2 separate regions of the Homo sapiens genome follow, and region 1 is linked to region 2. The links are contacts of gene promoters, found by promoter capture Hi-C in blood cells and fetal thymus (Javierre and others, 2016). All regions are on one chromosome and are shown on one strand. Each heading gives the region's core, a stretch centred on a gene start or on the middle of the fragment in contact. The rest is flanking DNA. Distances are from core to core; before and after follow the strand shown. Region 1 overlaps PNOC (prepronociceptin). Region 2 holds the start of SCARA5 (scavenger receptor class A member 5).

The links. Contacts are between HindIII fragments. The CHiCAGO score rates a contact against its expected background, and 5 or more counts as called.
Region 1: a fragment that was not itself captured here is called in contact with the fragment with the promoter of SCARA5 in region 2 in 1 of 17 cell types (M1 macrophages); the score reaches 5.1 in M1 macrophages.

The regions. Positions count from the first base shown.
Region 1 is chr8:28,323,187-28,327,402 of GRCh38, forward strand. The region is part of intron 1 of PNOC (prepronociceptin); the gene reads left to right. Among named protein-coding and RNA genes, the nearest start is that of PNOC, 8.0 kb to the left of the region's middle. The HindIII fragment of the contact is 1,166 bases long and covers 708-1,873 here.
Region 2 is chr8:27,989,344-27,993,964 of GRCh38, forward strand. It overlaps SCARA5 (scavenger receptor class A member 5), which reads right to left and starts at 3,330. Exons shown (of 9, transcript NM_173833.6): 1 at 2,914-3,330. The HindIII fragment of the contact is 6,163 bases long and covers 1-3,628 here.

The sequences.
Region 1 (4,216 bases), core at 41-2,540, 330 kb after region 2:
AAGGCCAAGCCATAGTGGTATTTTATCTTTATAAACAGCAAGGCACAATTAAATTTATGAGGTGTCATTACCAAAAGAAAAGGCAATTCAACATTTCTTTATTCAATATGAGACGCTCAGAATATAGTATTGCCACATAGAAGTATTAGCTGAGCTTGGCTCACGAAGTGAAATACAAGCCATGGAAAATTCAGCCTACTCAGGTAACTTTTGATTTACTGATGTTTGCTATGGTTGTATAAAAATAGCAACAACCTGTCACTATTCCCATTTCACAGTTGAGAAGACTGAGGCTCACAGAAGTGAAATAATTTGCACACAGTCCCACCGTTACAAAGTATAAAGTTTCAGCATCAATGTAACAACAAACCTGTTATTATCCCCACTTTGTAGTTGAAAGGACTGACCATCTCAGGACTTGTCTGCAGTCACACAGGTCCACAGTGTAAGGTTTAAACACAAATACAACTCGTGAATTAACTAAGTACTCATCTCCATTTAAATACAGAACATCATCCAGCATGGAGATATAGTCAAGACTTCTTACAAATGAAAAACATCTACTGAGTTTTCAAAGTTCAAAATCTGATTTAACCTAGAACACAGTTGTAGTAGGTGTTGGGAAGTGTATGAGAAAATACAGAATGCTGTCTCTATAACGATATTTACATAATTTTGAGTTTTCACTGACATTAATCTCATTTTAAAGCTTGCAAGCCACCTGTAGGGTGGATGGAACTATGTGGTCATCTCCATTTTGCAGATTCTGTGAATTGCAGGGGGGAATGGATAGCATTGAATATGGATGGCTCCTCAAATAATCAGTGGAGTCAATTGTTAAAAGTGAGGGGAGACAGAGAAGGGTCGGGAGGTTGGAGTCCGAAAGGTAGACGTGCCTCTGACCCACAGGGAGGTCCTGGCTAGAGCCAAGGACACTCAACAAGGTCTCCCTAAGTGCCAAGCTGCAGGGCCTCACATTTCACCTGCAGGAAGACTATCAAATGGAACATGTACTACGTGTCCCAGAAGCTCATCTTCCTTTTATACCTCGCCCTTAAATCCCATTTACCCAGATTTTGGCAAGCATCAGTCAAACCAGCCAACATTTCCTGAACATGCAAGTTGCCCCAGTTAATGAAGTTCACAAAAAACCTCAGCCAGAGAGCATTTTGCTAACATCTGTCACAGTTTGTCAGCTCAGCCTATGCACACATTCTGTATTACAACCTCATATTAGGAAGGAAAGGAAACGGCTCCTTTTCTCCTCCCTTCCCTTTCTTCTGCGACGTATAGCCACTGCCACCATGTGGCTGTAGAGGGCACAGCCACGCTGTTTGGAACAAATTCTACAAAAATGTCTAGAAAGACGGAAACTTAGTAGAATGAGAAATGTAAGGCCAGGCATGGTGGCTCATGTCTGTAATCCCAGCACTTGGGGAGGCCGAAGCGGGAGGATCACCTGAGGTCAGGAGTTCGAGACCAGCTTGGCCAACATGGTGAAACCCATCTCTACTAATAATACAAAAATTAGCTGGGGGTGGTGGTGCACTCCTGGAGTCCCAGCTACTGAGGAGGCTGAGGCAAGAGAATTGCTTGAACCTGGGAGGTGTGGGTTGCAGTGAGCCAAGGTTGTGCCACTGTACTCCAGCCTGGGCAACAGAGTGAAACATCGTCTCAAAAAACAAAAAAGAGTGTTAGAGTGAATGCTGCATGCCAGGTTCTTTCCTTCTTTTCCTTTCGTATATATTCTTATTGCCTGTCAGTTCTATTTTAATTGCTTACAAACGTTAACCCACTAATCATCCTCTGAGATAGGTACTAATTTCATCCCATTTTTGCAGATGAGGAAATGAGAGGTCAAGTACAGCTAGCAAGCTTCAGAGCTGTGATCGGAAGCAGGCAGTCTGTAGTCATTAGCAGATGAGAAAGCGCATATCACCGCCACTCTGCAGCGTGGGTCTGTTGTGCCTGTGTTGATAGATGGGGCCCCCGAGGCTCGCTGGCCTCCCACTATGATGTGCTCTTCCAGATGCCAGGGCAGCAGAGGAGACTGATCTAACTCAGACCAGGGGGTGGACATGGCTTCCCAGAAGGGATGATGCTAGAGGTGTGTGTGAAGGATGAGTTGGAGAAGGATATTCTGGGCAGAGGGAACAGCAAGTGCCAAGATAAAAAGACATTAAGAAGCCAGGCACAGTGGCTCATGTCTGTAATCCCAGCACTTTGGGAGGCCGAGGCAGGCAGATCACTTGAGGTGAGGAGTTCAAGACCAGCCTGGCCAACATGTGAAGCCCCGTCTCTACTAAAAACACAAAAATTAGCTGGATGTGGTGGTGTGCACCTGTAATCTTGCTACTCAGGAGGCTGAGGCATGAGAATCACTTAAACTTAAGAGGCGGAGTTTGCAGTGAGTCGAGATCGCGCCACTGCACTCCAGCCTGGGCGACAGAGTGAGACTCTGTCTCAAAAAAAAAAAAAAGAAAAAGAAAAAAAAAAAAAAGAAAGACATTAAGAGGCTGATACAGTTGGGAGCTACACGTGATCGGCTGAGACTAGAGGCTATGCAAGGTTAGGTGCCAGGAGATGAAGCAGGAGTTGGTCAGTGCTAAGTCCTTGGAGCTCCCCCTGACAGCAACAAGGTTATAAAATTAGTTTAAATATAAGGTGACATCATCAGATTGGAGATGGCTTGGGGGGAAGCCAGATCATTAGGTGGACTAATTAGGAGGCTATTACAATAACCAAGGCAATAAATCTCAACTAAAGCCCTGGTCCTTGGGATAGAGAAGAAAAATTAATCTCAAATGCATTTGCGATACAGTCATTTATGTAGGCACTGTGTTCATTATTTGTTTCAAAACCCGTCTCAAATGTGAGTTCATTGGCCAGGTGCAGTGACTTATGCCTGTAATCCCAACACTTTGGGAGGCTAAGGTGGGAGGAACATTTGAGGCCAGGAGTTCGAGACCAGCCTAGGCAACATGGCGAGACCTCATTTCTGCTAAAAATTTAAAAACTAACCAAGCATCCTGGGCTCAAACAATCCTCCCAGCTACTTGGGAGGCTGAGGTGGGAGGATTGCTTGCGCCCAGGAGTTCAACGCTTCAGTGAGCCGTGATTGCACCACTGCACACCAGCCTGGGCAACAGAGCGAGACCATCTCAAACAAACAAAAAGTCAATTCATTGATTTAACAAACACTTATTGAGCACCCCAGTAGTCATCATCCTCTGGGTATGAAATGCTTTGATGACGCACAAGAAGAACTGGGGTGGGCTCAGCTGCAGGTCCCTCCTTTGTTCACGTCCTTCTCATACCAGCACTTCCCAAACTTTGGCATGGATACAAGTCACCTGGGAATCTTGCTAAAAATGTGGATCCTTACAAAAAATTAGCGGGACCTGGTAGCATATGCCTGTAATCTCAGCACTTTGGGAGGCCGAGGCGGGCAGATCACAAGGTCAGGAGTTCGAGACCAGCTTGGCCAACATGGTGAAACCCTGTCTCCACTAAAAATACAAAAATTAGCCAGGTGTTGTGGCATGTGCCTGTAATCCCAGCCACTCGGGAGGCTGTGGCATGAGAATCTCTTGAACCAGGGAGGTGATGGTTGCAGTGAGCTGAGATTGTGCCACTGAACTGCAGCCTGGGTGACAGAGCAAGACTCTGTCTCAAAACAAAAACAAAAACAAAAAGACATGCAGATCCTGATTCAGTGGTTCTGGGGTGAGGCCCAAGAGTCTGCATTTCTAACAAGATTCCAGCTGGTCTGCAGGGTGCATTGGAGTACCAAGACCTTCTACAGTTCCTCAATATCATCTGAAGAAAAAGCAATAAAGGCAGTCATTTTTGGTTTTCTACACTGAACTCTTTATTAAGGGAACTGCATACAGTGAAATGCACAGAATGTAAATGTACAACTCAATGGGTTTTGGCAAATGGATACACCCCTGCGACTTCAGTCAAGAACATTTACATTTCTAGAAAGTTCTTTGTTCCTTTTCCATTTAATCCTCTACCTAAAGATGGTTCTACAGGGACCCAAAATGATACAGTACAGGGAAGCATCTTTCAGATTTAGAAGCCTTGATCAAAAGATAAGTTTCAAGGAGAAACAGTGAAAACTGCACACCTTTCAGGCAATCCTACATAAGATTGCAAACCACTGATCTAATCAACCAATCCTTGGAGCTACTATCTTGGAATAGTTTCTTTG
Region 2 (4,621 bases), core at 2,080-4,579:
TCTGGAACTCCTGGAGTCAAGCGCTCCACTGGCCTCAGCCTCCCAAAGTGCTGAGATTACAGGTGTGAGCCACTGCACCCAGCTGAAGCCCCTATTTTCATGACTTGAGCTTGGCCTCCACAGACCTCTGACATTTGGGCTGAGAAGAGACCAGAACTGACCAGTCACTGTATACATGTCCTTCTAATGACCCAGGAGGGCTGGACGCCTCTGCTGTTAGCCCTTCTGTACATCCCCCATAACGGGCACACACACGCATGTGCACACACACAGCCTTGGGGCTCCCAGTATCTGCGGGCCTCTCCTCCAGCCTATGGGAGGGATGGAACAGGGGGTGGTCCTCGGCTCTGCCAGGATCTCTCCTCCCTGCCCCAGACACCACCCACTCTGGCTTCCCTGTGCTGCAGTGGTGTCCAGTTCACTGGGCTCCCAATTCCGGCCCTCCACCCAATGCCTCCACCCAGGCAGGGCCTCTAGGTGGGGCCGCGGGCAGCTCCAGCACTGCTAAGTTGCAAGGGACCCTCCCTCATTTCATGAGCACTGTGTGCGGCAGCCCTCCCTCTGGCTTCACTCCTTGCGGGGCTGTGAAGCAGGAGGCCAATGTCTCTTTTGCCTGCAATAACCCTCCCTCTGCCAAAGGCAATAGCCTCTGCTTCCCAGAGGCCACACAGAGCCAGACAGGGCGCTGCCCCTGGGGAGTGGAGGTGTGAGGCCCCACTGCCATTTCCACCTTCCTCCTCTTCTGGTCAGCTCCTGGGACGGGGCTGGAATGCACGGCTTGTTAGCCAGAATGTGTGTGAAGGGCAGCTGTCTCCTTCCTCCTCCCCACCCCTCAGCTGGTCCAGCAGGAGCCCAGGGGATCTGCTGGGGAGAGGGACTGGGGCCGAGCGGGGCCAGATGTGAGTGCACAGGGCTTGGAAAAGCTCAGACAACTCTACTCATGTTTGTTACTTGGAATTGAAACCTACGCATGTTCTGTCTGCCCAAGGTTTCTTGGGGGCTGTTTTTCTTTCTTGGGGGAGGAAGCAGGCATTGGGACCCTCAGATCATGGATCTTACTGTCTTTGGACCAAGTCTGTGCTCTAGAAGATGAAACTGATGGCAAGTGCTCCTCCCAGGAGCACTGTGTTGGGGGTAGGCTGATGGCATTTGCATTCCGTCCCTCCCATTTTAAACATAAGCCATCCCAGACCAAAGAGGCAAAGGAAGGAATGGATATCAGAGCGGGAAGAGGCCCCGGGCACAGTTTTCCTACACAGGGCACTGGCTCAGCTGCAGGGTTGCTTTGTTTGGGAATTGCATGTCAGCCCCTTTGGTGACCACTTTCTGGGCCCCAGATCAGGCAGAGAAGAGAATCCCACCTCAGACTGCCAGCCAGTGTACTCCAGCAGGTGGGGATCCTGGGACTGAGGCAGGGCTCTGAGAGCTTGAAGCACATGGGCGAGATGTGGAAGCCACAGTGACCTGTGGATGAAGCCCAAGGAGACTGGACCTCAACTTGCAACTCAAAGAGGGAGGTCTTGCTCTAACAGGGAGGTGTCACCCTCTCCACTAACCTCTTGGCAATCATGATTTACTTCCAGACAATTTCACCCAAGGCACTTAGAAGGGCAGGTTCAGAGCCAGGGATCTGCTTCTAGATTCTGCATTTTAGAGCTGGAAAAGCCCTCAGCCATCTGTGCCCTGCAGCCCTGTGCCCTGGGGCCATCTGCGCCCTGCAGGCCTGGCTCTCTGCAGGAATGCAGGGAACACAGAAGCCAAGGGCTCCCATCCTAGCTCCTCTGCGTATTGGTTTCTTGGGGGAACTTGGCTCAATTACCTGACCTCATTCAGCCTCAGGTACATGACCTCTAAGATGGGAAGGTGGGTAGCTGCTGGTCACCCAGGATCACTGTGAGCCTCCCGTGAGATAATGCATGTGGCATGACTTTATGAACAAGGTCACTCAGGGGAGCTGGTGGCAGTCTGATGAGAAAAAGCATCCCCCAGCATCTTCTGACTCTGCCTGGCAGCCAGGTAAGGGGGTGTCCAGGTTCCCAAGGCCTCCCTCCTACCTAGCCAGTCTCAGAAACAAAGCTGTTTGAAGTTCCCTTTGTAAAAGGCAATCGCGAATGCACTCTAGGGCTGATATCAGGACCCTGGCTCTTCAATCCTTCTCTGGAGATCAGAAGGACTCCATTAATTCCTCCTCTGAGTGGGTAGCACGAGCCTCATTTGCTGCTACCAAGTCAGTTTCTCTGGGTACCCGCATCTAACTCTGCAGGGTTTATGGCTTTTCTTTGGATTACCTCACTTTAAACTCATCAAAACCAAGGAAAAAAATCACATGAGTGTGGCCCTTCTCCAAAGAGAGAATCACTAAGGAGGTTTTAAATGTTTTCCTCCTCTAACTGTACTTAGTTAAGCTAAATCATAACCCAAAGCTGGACAGAGACAGATATTTTAGAAATAACCTCTCCCCACATATATCCCACCACTGGCACATGCACACGCACAGACATGCACACACACACACATGCACACACACACACATGCACACACACACATGCACACACACACATGCACACACACGAAGCCATGGAGAGGAGCTGTCACCTGAGCCATCTGCACCCTGAGTAGGCTCTTGAGCTGTGACATGAGTCAGGTGGAGTAGCCACCAAGGCAATAGCTTCCCTCTGGCACCCCAAATGCAGGCTCACATTCTCTCCAGCCCAGGCAGTTGGATGAGGGCCCGGCAGATATCTGCGGGCCCAGCAGGCGGGGACCTTCCCACCTGGAGAAGGCACCTCCAGGCTCTAGGTCTGAAGTTTCCCAAACTCTGTACTCCTCTCCATCCAGTTCACTCCAGTCTCCTCCAGCTGTCTTTGAGACAGCATGCCCAGGAGATAGGACAAAATTAGTACCAAGACTCACCTGAGTGCCCCTGGCTGAGGCTGTAGAGCCTTGTCCCCTCAGATCTCAGCATTTGCCATGGTGGCCAGAGAGCTGGCTGCCACCACGCTGAGAGCCAGGCCGCCCCTCGGACCGCGTCCCCACAGCCAGCCAAATCCAGATGGAGTCATAGAAAGGGGCTGCAGGGGCGCCCAGGGACGAGTCTCAGAGCAGGACCACAGGGGCCACTTCTGCAGGAGGACCAGGTCAAGATGCAACCTGTGGCAGAGTGGGGGTCTGGGCCTGGGGGACCCAGAATGGGGGGTGTGCGCCTGGGACTCCCTGTCCTTGGTGCCTGGTCCTGGGTAGCGATCAGGAGATGTTCTGAGGAGGCACCGGCAGCTCCTCTAGGTACTGCCTGAGATGCGAACTGCAGCTGCTCTCGCCGCCAGTCCGTATAAAATAAAGTTCTTGGAGCAGTTGCGGAGGCTTCTGCAATGGGGTCTGGAATACGGCCCCCCTCCTGCGGCCAATCGTGGCATTACAGCCCCGTGTGGGAACGCCCGCTGGGCCCAGAGCAGCGCGGTCGGCCTTGGCCTTGGGACTCCAACACCCCAGTCTAAAGGTCCTGCTCAAAATACTTTTTGGAAGACTTCTGGGGGAGTGGCAGCTAGACCTGGCTTATGAGCCACGCAAGAAAACCAGTCTTGTAAATTTATTTATAGCACAGAATTGGCATGGCTCAATTCATTCACCAAGCTTGGCACAGAGTTACTTCATGTATTTTCCTGGAGTCACATTCATCCTCAGTGGACACGGATTGGCCACACTGGGGGTAGTCAGGAAAATGCCCCAGGGGGTTCCACGGAACTCAGCAGCAGAATCAGCGTTTCTGGCTCATTAACGCTGCACAGGGGCTGGGGGGTGCAGGATGAAGACTAGCTGGCTGTCCATAGCAATTCAGTATGGGAGGGGGACCCAGGCACGAATAATCCTAAACCTGAGCATGATTGCTTACGTTTGAAAAAGGACATCTAGGCCGGGTGCAGTGACTCACACCTGTGGTCCCAGCACTTTGGGAGGCTGAGGTGGGAGGATTGCTTGAGCCCACCCACAAGTTCAAGACCAGCCTGGGCAACATAGTGAGACCCCATCTCTAAAAAAAAAAAAAATCTCTTTAAAGGCAATCTAACCATATGTGAAGGGAGCTGCTAAATTCAGATTGAGGTGGTAGTATCAGGGGCATCAGAGAAATCACCATAATTGTCCAAGCCAGGGTGGCAGAGTTAGGCTATGCAGATGGCTTCCAGAGGACAGCACCCAGAGGTAACATTCATGAATGCATTCCTGTTTGTTGGTGAAAAGTTCAGCCTCAAGACTCCAGGGTCAGGCTTCGTACATGAAAAGTGTTTGCCAAGACTCAGCTGTGTCACTGCAGCTGCCCGCCCACAGCTGAGTCAGAAACGCCGTCCTCATTCTCAGTGACTGCCCTGCCTGACTGCCTAGGAAGCAGCTCCAACATCAAACTCCATTTTACAGAAAGAACAAATGATAATTGTATCATTATGGTAATAATCCCAGGGAGCGGAGGAGGAGAAGGAAAAGAAGACAACACTTTATAGCATATACCATGTGTTTCTTATATATTAGCTCATTGAACCTATTCAACAACCCCCTGAGGCAGGTGCTGCTATTATGCTCATTTACAGAGACAGAGAGGAAGTGACTTGTCCAGGGTCTTGTAGCCAGT